Linked DNA regions of Homo sapiens: all the other regions are linked to region 3. The links are contacts of gene promoters, found by promoter capture Hi-C in human tissues and cell types (Jung and others, 2019). All regions are on one chromosome and are shown on one strand. Each heading gives the region's core, a stretch centred on a gene start or on the middle of the fragment in contact. The rest is flanking DNA. Distances are from core to core; before and after follow the strand shown. Region 1 holds the start of LOC107987282 (a long non-coding RNA gene). Region 2 overlaps SYS1-DBNDD2 (SYS1-DBNDD2 readthrough (NMD candidate)). Region 3 holds the start of WFDC3 (WAP four-disulfide core domain 3).

The links. The method cuts DNA at HindIII sites, captures the fragments that hold promoters and counts their contacts. A contact is called where the count stands out against the background at its distance.
Region 1: a fragment that was not itself captured here is called in contact with the fragment with the promoter of WFDC3 in region 3 in 2 of the 25 tissues and cell types used here (H1 embryonic stem cells and mesendoderm cells).
Region 2: a contact is called between a fragment that was not itself captured here and the fragment with the promoter of WFDC3 in region 3, in 2 of the 25 tissues and cell types used here (dorsolateral prefrontal cortex and mesendoderm cells).

The regions. Positions count from the first base shown.
Region 1 is chr20:45,484,146-45,488,173 of GRCh38, reverse strand. LOC107987282 (a long non-coding RNA gene) reads right to left here and starts at 562. Exons shown (of 4, transcript XR_001754641.3): 1 at 464-562. The HindIII fragment of the contact is 3,122 bases long and covers 1-3,068 here.
Region 2 is chr20:45,388,283-45,392,100 of GRCh38, reverse strand. All of the region lies in intron 3 of SYS1-DBNDD2 (SYS1-DBNDD2 readthrough (NMD candidate)), which reads right to left. It also overlaps the pseudogene NDUFB4P10. Among named protein-coding and RNA genes, the nearest start is that of TP53TG5, 12 kb to the right of the region's middle. The HindIII fragment of the contact is 5,202 bases long and covers 1-3,818 here.
Region 3 is chr20:45,789,583-45,793,212 of GRCh38, reverse strand. WFDC3 (WAP four-disulfide core domain 3) reads left to right here and starts at 1,330. Exons shown (of 7, transcript NM_080614.2): 1 at 1,330-1,381; 2 at 3,231-3,319. The coding sequence starts at 3,238. DNTTIP1 (deoxynucleotidyltransferase terminal interacting protein 1) reads right to left here and starts at 1,259. Exons shown (of 13, transcript NM_052951.3): 1 at 1,104-1,259; 2 at 466-536. The coding sequence starts at 1,208. RefSeq lists silencers at 557-696, 907-1,176. The HindIII fragment of the contact is 18,270 bases long and covers 1-3,630 here.

The sequences.
Region 1 (4,028 bases), core at 258-2,757, 310 kb after region 3:
AGATCAAGACCATCCTGGCTAACACCGTGAAACCCCGTCTCTACTAAAAATACAAAAAATTAGCCGGGCGTGGTGGTGGGCACCTGTAGTCCCAGTTACTCTGGAGGCTGAGGCAGGAGAATGACGTGAACCCGGGAGGCGGAGGTTGCAGTGAGCCGAGACTGCGCCACTGCACTCCAGCCTGGGCGACAGAGCGAGACTCTGTCTCAAAAAAAAAAAAAAGTATTTACCTTACATACAGGTAATGCGTGTATAAACACATACGCAAATAACACCTCTGAGGCCCGCAGGTCACTGCCACCTCTAACGGCCCCATTGGACTGTGAATTCCAGTGGGCCCAGCCATTCTCCCTCAGCCATGACTGGATCCGCAGGTCCCAACACAAGCCTCTCATCCAGCAGGCGCTCAACAAACACTCAAGTAACCCATCAGGCCCAGTTTTTGGAGAAGCCTGGGACTCACCTTGAGGGAAAGGATGTCCTCTGCGCGGATGACGAACTCGTCCTGCTCACGGAAAATGCCCTCTCCGCCACTCTCGTCAGCCTTCTAGTCCGTCTCTCCACACACGGCCGCCGTCTCCTGCTTCTTGGCCAGGTGCAGAGGCCAGGTGTCCGGCAGCTCAGCGTCCTCGGGGGATGGGGGGCGGGCTCCCCTGGAGGGGCAGCCGGTGGGGCAGCGGCTGGCGGGGGTGGCAGTGGAGGCGAAGGCATAGCTGGTGGAGGTGGCAGCGGTGGTGGCGGTGGTGAGCTGGACGTGGGGGCCACCAGCGGGGGTGGTGAGGGCAGGGCTGGCTGTGGCGGCGGAGCGGGTGGGAGAGGCTGAGGAGTCGGGGCTGGAGGTGGAGTGGGTGGAGATTTCTTCTCCAGCAGAGGGGGCTCTTTCTGTATTTTGTAAATTTTTCTTTCTGTATTTTTCTGTCATAAAAAGGGGTACCTTAGGATGAAGCACAACTCCAGCCTGGGCAACACAGCAAAAAACTCCATCTCAAAAAGAAGAAAGAGAGAAAGAGAAAAAAAGAAAGAAAAGAGAAAGACAGTGGTTAGAAAGAAAAGAGAAAGACAGTGGGTCAGAGGTCCCCCTCAGTAACATCCCTCTTGGTTAGAAATGGATTTGGCACTATGAAATGTTAACTGCTATTCTCTGGATTAATCTGCCTTGCACTGTTTGCTGATGGCTACAGGTGACTGGATTAGGCATGTACAGGATCTTGGAACATGGGGAACTTTTTTCTCCCCAGAGGGGGCAACTTGAGAGCTGATGGGACTGCTGGAAAAGATCCCTTTGTGACTGACAAGTACCTGCCTGAACTTTTGATTCAGTGTTGCTGCAATGGGTGGGTATTCCTCTGGTCTCCCTGAGCTCCCCGCTTCCCCACCCTGCCTCAGACCAGGCTTCTCTCTCTTACTCTCTCTTTCTCTCCTTTTCTTTTCCTATCGTTTCTGTTACTTGAGACTACCTGCTCTTCCATCTTGCCCAGAGACCACATGTTGAAATTCCGGGTCGGAGGTCACTCCACCCCACTTTGAATGGATTAAAGATGACAAGGCCCAACCGGGGGCAAGTTTGAGCCTTGCCAGTTAGATATTGGGTGCTAAGCAGAGCGGCTAATGTCTATGTTTTGTCACACGTATTTTGCTCTGGCTGGAATGGAAAATGTTCATTTGGTTACCCCATGCAACCCACTGGGCAGCATCTTACAAAATTGAGATTTTTTTTTTTTTAATTTTGTGTTGCAGCTTGGCCTCCAGGGCTATGATGCAGCAAGTAGATTCGCTAGGGCCACTCAGGGAAAGGGAACCCAGAAACCTGGCATGCCAGCAAAAGGGTAAGAATTTCTTACCAGTCAGACTTCTGGCCTCTCTCTGTGCGCGCCGACTGTAGGAATGGTAAAAATCACTGCCTCCTCTGCAAAGTTTCAATTAATGAAACAAAAGCCTTCATGTGGCTAGTATTAAGCTGTAGCAAATCTGGTGTAATTTGTGCTATGAATTTGTCTTTCTGTATTTTTCTGTCATAAAGAGAGGTACCTTAGGATAGAATATGGGCTTAGGACCCGGTAAGCTTGCTGTTCAAGCCAGTCCGGCACACTGGTCAGTTACAAACTTTGCGGCAGGTCCCTGAAACAAACAAAAAACTGACTGAAGTTTTCCCCTTGTCTTATGCCCTTGGAAGCTTGACCTTGTAACCATATGGTGGTATACCTTCTTAGTCTCCAGCATCCAGAGGACAGGAATTTTGAGGTTCACGTCATAGCCCTAAAAATTGTCTTGAGCAGTTAAAAGCCTTTGCAAGCTCAAAATTGGCTGCCTCTAGGGTCCTTCTAAGAAAAGAAATGGAAACTGCCCAATGCTGAAGCTTAGTAGCTAAGGTTTTGTCTTTTCACAATGGCAGCCCACATTCAGGGTTCAATTCCCAGCTCAGGGAATTAGTCCTTTCTAGTTTGATATCTACGTGAGCTTTGCCATTTGTTGATTCTCTGCCCCTCCTTGAACAACATCTGGCTTTCCTTTTTGAATTTTCCCTTCTCTAAGCTGCCTTTGTAGATTCTAAATCTTGTAAAAACTGCTTACCACCTGTTTGAAAATACTTCGTACACCTGTGGTTAAGTCACAACCTTAGTTAAGGCTTATTGGTTTCACCTGGGAGATTACCTTTGGTAAAGTTTAAAGGCCATAAATATTGGCTGTTTGTCCCGGCTAGAGTCTGGTAATAAGAGATTTTGTTAAAAGTTAGCTTAATTAAAAGCAGATATCCAAGCTATACGTATATTTAAAAGGTCTTTATGTTTTTTTCTCTTCTTGGATCTTATGAAGAAAAAAGTATTTTTTTTTACCAGGGGAAAACAAGACAAGGGGAAAAAAAAGGTATTTTTTTTTTCACAGTCAACTGAATTGTTTCTCTGTTTTGCCTTCTTGCCACTCTTGATGCACATGTGAGAGGACCTAAGATAATTTCTAATAGCCTTGGACTCCTTGAGAAAAACAGAGGAGGTGCCACAGACCCCGTTTTAGGGAAAACATCTGTTTTCCTCATTAAGACCCAGGGATTGGAAGCAGATAGATCTCTCTCAAAAGCTAAGGCTCTGTTCTGTTTTGCATTGCGTTATTTGACATTTTTTACTTTTTAGAGTATCAGAAATTACTTCACATTATGAGTGAGCTTTGGTGTGTAATAACTAGGTAGCAAATATACTTTTGGGCATGGCCAGTGGCAGTTATGGCGGGATACTTGGCTCTCTGCACGTTTGGATCAGAGAGGCGTGCTCTCAGCCACCTGGAAGGTATGGAAACATCCCCATCCCCCACCCCACCACTGAGATAAGGCTTCCGTGGGGGATAGGCTGATCACAGAATGGGCTGATTGACTCTGGGTTGTCTTGCAATGAAACTCACAGTAAGATCATTCATTGTCTTGTTCTGTAGTATTTCTTTTTTGGGAATTGAGGATCCGGTATAAAAATAGGACCCTGAATTTTGGGGGATCTGTTTTGCTTTCCATCTGTATCTGCTTATTAAGCCCTAGAAACGGCATGTTTTCCTAACCCTGTTCCTCAAAGGACCCCACCCTGAAGCCAGTAATCCAATTAAGAAACTTAAAAACTGCCAAATGAAAAATCGTAACAACTACTGGATCTTCTGCTGTCTGTATATTTATATGTGTTGTGTGTGTGACATTTATATATGAAGGAGCTCTGATTAATTGGCTTAAAAATAAGCGCTTAAATATTTTGTCAGGAAAATAAAAACTAATGCCTTTTAGTTCACGTGACTTTAGTAAGCTTTGGAAGGACAGTTTAAAAAATTATTGGTAAAATAAAGACATTTGGTCTAAATTAGGTCAGATAATTAGGTTTGCTAAACGCTTTAAGATCATGAACTGCTTCTTTGACTTTTGAAAAGTCAAAGAAGAGCTATTCTTTGAGCTATTAGATTCTAGGTAAGGCCTGTGGACATGCGGAGTTAGGGATGCCCCCTCACTATGATGGAAGGATAACTTATCTGCATTTTTGTCTCGTATCTTAGGCTCC
Region 2 (3,818 bases), core at 507-3,006, 400 kb after region 3:
TATTGAATAAGATTCAAAGTGACCCACAAGTTTTAAAAAGGATTATATATCCAAAAACATCACCTTAGATTTGCAGGGATAAAAAGAGTACAAATAAAAAGAGGATTTCAGCCAGGCAGGATGGCTCATGCCTATAATCCCAGCACTTTGGGAGGCCAACGTGGGCAGATCACCTGCTGGATCAGGTGATCTAGAGATGAGAGAGAGAGAGAGAGAACAAAGCTTCAGGAACATGGAAGATTATAACAAAAGATTTAACATTTGTGTCATGGGAGTCCTAGGTGAAGAGAAAAAAAAAAGGTGGAGCTAAAAATGTGTTCAAAGAAATAAAGCTGAAAGTGTCCCAAATTTGATGAAAGACATACACACACGGATTCAAGAAGCTGACTAAACCCCAAGCATGATAAACCAAAGAAATCCATACAAGACACACCATAAACAAATTTCTGAAAACTAAAGTCTTGAAAGCAGTTGCAGAGAAATTAACCTTACCAATAATACAGCAACAATTTAAATTGCAGCAGATTTCTCATCAGAAACTGTGAAAGCCAGAAAGAAGTGGCACAATATGTTTAAGTACTGAAAGAAAAAACCGTCAACCCAGAATGCTAAGCAAAGTGAAAAAATCCTTCAGGTATGAAAGTCAAGACATTCTCAAATGAAGGAAAAACTAACATAATTTGTTAACTGAAGAACTATAGTAAGTCCTTAATGTCATCAATAGTTTCTTGGAAACTGCAACTTTAACCAAAATGATGTATAATGAAAGCAAGTTTATCGTAGACTAATTGATATTAACAAGGTAAGTCCATACAGCATACTTCTGGTCACAAAAACAATACCACGCTTCTAAATAAATGCCCAGACACATCTAGTATTAAACATTAAAATAAATGTGAGCTATACATACATTTAAGAAAGATTAATAAAACAGGGAAGTTCATTATTTACTCACCTATTGGTGATGTAATTAAAGTGAGGTCATGCTGGATTAGTATAAGCAGTGAGTGACAGCAGTCATCATGGTGGTGAGTTAAACCAAGGAATAAATCTTTGCAGAGCAAAAATTGTAAGGAGTATCTCCTACCACCATGCAGTTCAAAAACAATAATAAATATGGCAGGCTGGCTGAGTGCTCTTATACCAAATTATTTACTGTTATGCATTTGTATGATTATTATATACTTTACAAATTTTTATTTTACAATAATTTGTATTCACTTATTCTTCATTTCCAACCTGCTTATTCCATTTCAGGGTCCTGGGTGGCTGAATCTTATTCTGGCAGCTCAGGGTGCAAGGCACCCTGGAAAGGATGCCATTCCATCACAGAATGCGTGCACGCACACACACACACACCCCTCACTCATACTTGGATAATTTAGATAATTTAGATACACCAATTAACCTAATGTGCACATCTCTGGGATGTGGGAGGAAATTGGAGTGCCCAGAGAAAACCCACACAGACATGACGAGAATGTGCAAACTCTACACAGACAGTGGCCATGGCTGGGAATCAGTTGTTGTTTTTTTTTCTCATCAACATTATAAAGAAATGACGTTAAACAAAATAACATTATTTGAGGACCTGCTGTACCGTGAAAGAATGGCTAAAGGAAGTTCTCCAAACATAAAGGAAATGATGAAAGAAGAAAACCCGAAACATCAGGAGTGAAGAAAGAACAATGGAAATAATAAAAATATGGGTAAATATGATGGGCTATCCTTCTTCACTTGCATTTTCTAAATTATGTTTGATGGCTAAAACAGAAATTATATAACATGGTCTGATGTGGATTCAATTTATGTAATGAAGATATTTAAGACAATTACATTATGAAAGGAGAAGGGTAAAGGGACCTAAATAGAGGTCAGGCTTCTATCCCTCACTCAAAGTGGCAAAAGTGTCGATACCAGTAGATGGTCATAGATTATGTTATGTATGATGTAATATAGAAAGCAGCCACTAAAAAACCTACACAAAGAGATACACTTAAAAAAAACACTTCACCATAGATAAAAAAAATGGAATTCTAAAAACTGTTTAACCCATAGGAAGAGTAGAGAAATAAAAGAGAAGAATGAAAAGCAGAGGGAATGAAAAGAAAACAATCAAATGGCAGGCTTAAACCCTAACAAATAATTGCATTAACTGCCGGTAGTCTATAAATATACTTTATAACTCTGAGACTGGCAAAACGGAGTGAAAAAAATGACCCAAAATAAGCTCTCTACAAGAAACTCACTTCAAATATGACATAGGTAGACTGAACATAAAAGGATGAAAAAAGATACACCATACAAAGATTAATTAAAAGAAAGCAGAGTTAGCAATTTCAATATCAGATGAAATAGACTGCTGAGCAAAGAAAATCACCAGGGCCAAAAAAAGATATTAAATGGGTCAAATCACAAAGAAGACATAGCAATCATACATGTGTACATACCAAACAACAGATCTTAAAAATCTATGAAACAAAAATTGGTAGAACTGAAAAAAAAAATAGACATCTACTATTAAAGTTGGAGACTTCAACACATCTCTCTCAACACTTGATAGAAATACTAGACAGAAGGGTGGGCATGGTGGCTCACACCTGTAATCCCAACATTTTGGGAGGCCAAGGCGGGTGGATCACCTAAGGTCAGGAGTTCAAGACCAGCCTGGCCAACATGGTGAAACCCTGTCTCTACTAAATATAAAAATTAGCCGGGTGTGGTGGCGGGCGCCTGTAATCCCAGCTACTCGGGAGGCTAAGGCAGGAGAATTGCTTGAACCCGGGAGGCGGAGGCTGCAGTGAGCCGAGATTGTGCCACTGCACTCCACCCTGGACGACAGAGCAAGACTCTGTCTCAAAAAAAAAAAAAAAGAAACACTAGACAGGAAAGCAGCAAGGATGTATAAGAACTTTAAAAAGCCATCAATCAAAAGAATCTAATTAATATTTAGACAATACTTCACATAACAATAACAAGATTCACATTCTTTTGAAATGCTTATGGAACACTCACCAAGACTATATCTTAAGTCACAGAATAAAAGTCAACTAAAAAAAATTTTTTTAAAGAGACAGCATCTTGCTCTATTGCCCAGGCCGGAGTGCAGTGGTGCCGATCATGGCTTACTGCAGCCTTCAACTCCTATCCTCAAGTGATCCTCCTACCGTGGCATCCAAGAGACTTGGGATTACAGGCATGAACCACTGCTCCCGGCCTCAAGGAATTTTTGAAAATCAAAATCGCACAGCATGTGTTCTGAGATCACAATGAAATCAAACTAGAAATCAATAACAAAAAGATAATAGGTAAATCTCCAAACATATGGAAATTAAACACCTCATTTCTGAATAATACATGAGTCAAGAGGCGCAGTTGTGCACTGGGTCACCAAGATGACTCTCCCAAACTATACTCCATCACACCTGGCCCCTCTGCCCATGACCCTCAATCCAGCTGAATATGACATACCTCCACAAACTGCAACCTGAGCATTTGGCCATAAATCTGGGTTTAAACAGGGGTACTTAATCAGCACAATGACCCTAACCAATGATGATTCATCGAGGGCTCATCAAACATCTTGGCTTAATTTGTTGGACTTGTGTAAGATCAGCACATGTCTATCCCAATTTCAGACCCATTATCAAATACTCATCCAGTAGCTCTATGTGGAATCGGATCCGGTAGGGATAGGAAAGAAAAGCTTATCCAGGAAGAAAAATTGGATCAAACATTTAACATCTCATATTAAGTCTAGCAATGACGATTTTATGTATTCCTGCTTAAATACACTTCTATTAATCCAAAAATCCCAC
Region 3 (3,630 bases), core at 81-2,580:
AACATCCATTTCACCACTATCAGCATCCCAAAGGCCCACCTTGTGCTCTCTCCCTTCCCTGACATGCATACTATTAATCCCTCTTTATAGTTGAGAAAACGGGCTCATCAGAGTCTGTTGATGAGAACACAGTTGTCTGACTCCAGAGCCTGTTCTCTTAAACTCCATGCTAACTGACCTCTTTAGAGCCCTCAACCACAGAGCCAGTGAATGTGAGGGATCTTAGGTATTGTTTATTCCACAACCCATCTCCTGTGCCCTTCCCCATTTTGTACGTGAGTTCAGAGAAGGAAGTGACTTGACTAGTTCAAGATCACACAGAGTTACAGAATCGGAGTCTCCTCTTCCTCAGTCCTGTGCTCTTTCTACCGGCTGTAGATCTCCATAGCCTTGTGCACTGGGGATCCCAAATCTGCCATGCAAGCCAGTGGCTGGGATATAAGCCCCATGCAGGGCCAGCCTTACCTTGTTGTCATCTGTGAGCGGCGGCCCCTCCGCTGCACCTGCCGGTGCTTTATCATTATGTTCCAAGGGTTCTGTGGGGACCAACGGAACAAATGTCACTGCGGCCTGTGACACTGGGGTGGGGTGGAGGTGGAGGGTGGGTATGAAGTTAAACCTGGACATCCCTGCTTCTCAGATCCGTCACCATCTCTCCCGCCTTGGGGTGGGACGATAGTTGTAAGGCCTCCTCCACAAAAGAGGAACTGAGGAAGTTTCCTGCCTTAAAAGTCCCGACCCTGCCTTCTGGCACGGCAGGAGGAAGGGAAGCAGTATTTACCGAGGGTCAACTCTGTGTCAGGTGATGTCCGGGGCGTTGTACCCGCCTTTATCTTCCCATCCCACAACAAGTTTTATGAGACAGGTACTAATCATTTCCATTTTATAGAAGAGGATCCTGGGACTCAGGGGGTTGACAGAGATGGCCCACGTCACCTAGCTAGGAGGGCGGCACCAGAATTTAAATCCAGGTCGTCGGGCTGCGAAAACGCCAACCCCCTCTGCAGCTCCAGCCTCCGCGTTCTCTCGCCCGCGGGCCAGGGTCCCAGGAGCCCCGAGGCCGTGCCCGGCCTGAGCCCAGACCTCACCGGGGGCGCCCTCACCGTAAGAACCAGCTGCCCCGCTGCGCCCGCATCCCCCAGCTCCAAGCCGCCCCTCTCGGCCCCGCTAGGTCCCCGCGGCTGCTCGGCGTCGCCAGTGGCTCCCATGGCGCCCCCGGCCCCCACAACTCCGCTGGACTCTGTCACCGGCCGGAAAGTGGCGCCGTGACGTCACTGGAGCGCGCTGCTCGTCCGCCCGGAAGCGCGACGCTGGAGCTGCGGGGTTACCATGGGAACCGAACCGCCGCGCCTCGCCCAGGACAGTTACACTTAGAGGCCTTGTAGGTGGAGGTCGTTGGGGCTTCCTCTCGGGAGGGCTGCGCCTCGATTGTGCAGTGTGGGTGTTCAGTGGCGGTTCAGTCAAGGGATGTTTCCCGCTGGGCCAAGGCCTGGGGATGACTGCGGGGTAGGAGGAAGGGACCAGTTTTCTGTAGGCTGGGGTTGGGGAGCAGAGGGAAGCGTTTGGTACAGCGGCGCCTGCAGTTCAGTTTTTGAAAACTAGATTTTAATATGCTCGGCCAGGGGCGGTGGCTCACGCCTGTAATCCCAGCACTTTGGGAGGCCGAGGCGGGAGGATCACTTGCCATCAGGAGTTCGAGACCAGCCTGGCCAACATGGCGAAACCCCGTCTCTACTAAAAATATAAAAATTAGCCGGGCGTGGTGGTGGGCACCTGTAATCCCAGCTACTCGGGAGGCTGAGGCAGGAGAGTCTCTTGAACCCAGGAGGCGGAGGTTGCAGTGAGCCGAGATCACGCCACTGCACTCCAGCCTGGGCGACAGAGGGAGACTGTCTCAAAAAAAAAAAAAAAAAAAGCACATTAGGCACATGTTAGGTCATCATCAAATGTTAATTATGCCGAGATCGCGCCACTGCATTCCAGCCTGGGGGACAGAGGGAGACTCTGTCTCAAAAAAAAAAAAAAAAAAAAAAAAAAAAGCATATTAGGCACATATGAGGTCATCATCAAATGTTAATTATCTCCATGAGCCAACATCAGCCTTCTAACCATAAGGGCGACTTCCTGGCTCCAAACTTTTTGATCCTATTAAGGAGGTTTTACCTTGTACCTGCCCATAGGACTAAGCAGTGCCAGTGGACACCATTAGGTATCACAGCTAACCAAAGGCATGACCAGGACAGATAAAGAAAAAAAGAAATGGAGAAAAAAGAAATAAAGGAGGTATATGTGGGCAGACTATTTGAGTCATACATAGCAACTTCTCTTGGGTTCTGCCAGCTAGACTTCATACAGTCCAAGAATGGCCTGTGTGGGTTAGAGGGACAAAGATGTAGGTGTTTGGTGCTTTTCATTAGTTCTTAACAAACTCAACTACTGCTTTTCTGTAGGTTTTTGATAGTTTCTTTTCTCTCTTTTTTTTTTTTTTGAGACAGAGTCTCACTCTGTTACCCAAGCTGGAGTGCAGTGGCATGATCTCCACTCACTGCAACCTCTGCCTCCTGGGTTCAAGCTATTCTCCTGCCTCAGCCTCCCACGTAGCTGGGATTACAGGCATGCACCAGCATGCCCAGCTGATTTTTGTATTTTTAGTAGAGACAGGGTTTCGCCATGTTGGCCAGGCTGGTCTCAAACTCCTGACCTCAGGTGATCTGCCCGCCTTGGCCTATTTGATAGTTTCTGAGTGGTCTGTTCCATTCTGTATTTTCTTGGTTGCTAGGATGAACAGGAGCCACAATTTTATTATGCTTGGTTATGTTATTAGCTTTGGCCATTAAGTAGTGTCGTGAATCCCTCCCTCTGTTATTTGGGCTAAAGCCATGTCCTTCCAATGCCCTTTAGGGCTCTCTTTGATTCTTTTTCCAATGGCCACCCCTCCATTTTTCCAGCCACCCACTAGGTTTCTCATCATCCAGGAATATTGTGTATATTGCTTACAGAATTTGATCCTCCCATCACAGGTCCCCTTTGGTAGTGCCAGGAATTTTCCCACACTCCAGCAGCCAATCCCTCTTCTTCTTGTCAGGAGAAGATATTCTTGGGGAGTATTGTGAAAGGGAAGGTTTTGGGACTGGGTTTGGGGCCATCCCTAGTCCTGCTCATACCTCAGCTGATACTCTGGGCAAGGTGTACACCTCTAGCCTGAACTGAGCTCTTGTCCCAACTCTCAGCATCATCATGATGTTAAGCTGCCTCTTTCTTCTGAAGGCACTTCTTGCTCTTGGGTCTCTGGAATCCTGGATAACTGCAGGAGAACATGGTGAGCTATCATTTGGGATCCCTGGCCAACAGTAACAGAAAGTGACTAGAGGAGAGGAGAACTCATCCCCTGCCTTCTCCCAGAGCAAGGTTGCTTGTAAGTGGAGATGATCATCTCTATAGGACAGGACTGGATGAATAGATTCTCAGGATGGCCTGGGTCATTCTTCCTGGCTTTCTTTACCCTCTCTGGACAAGGAGATAGGACTTCCAGTTGGGCTTACTAGAGGTTCTAGCTTTTCCCTAGAACTCATTAAATGAGAACAGGATCATCCCACCCTTTCTCTCTCGTTATCTGCAGGATGGCTGCTC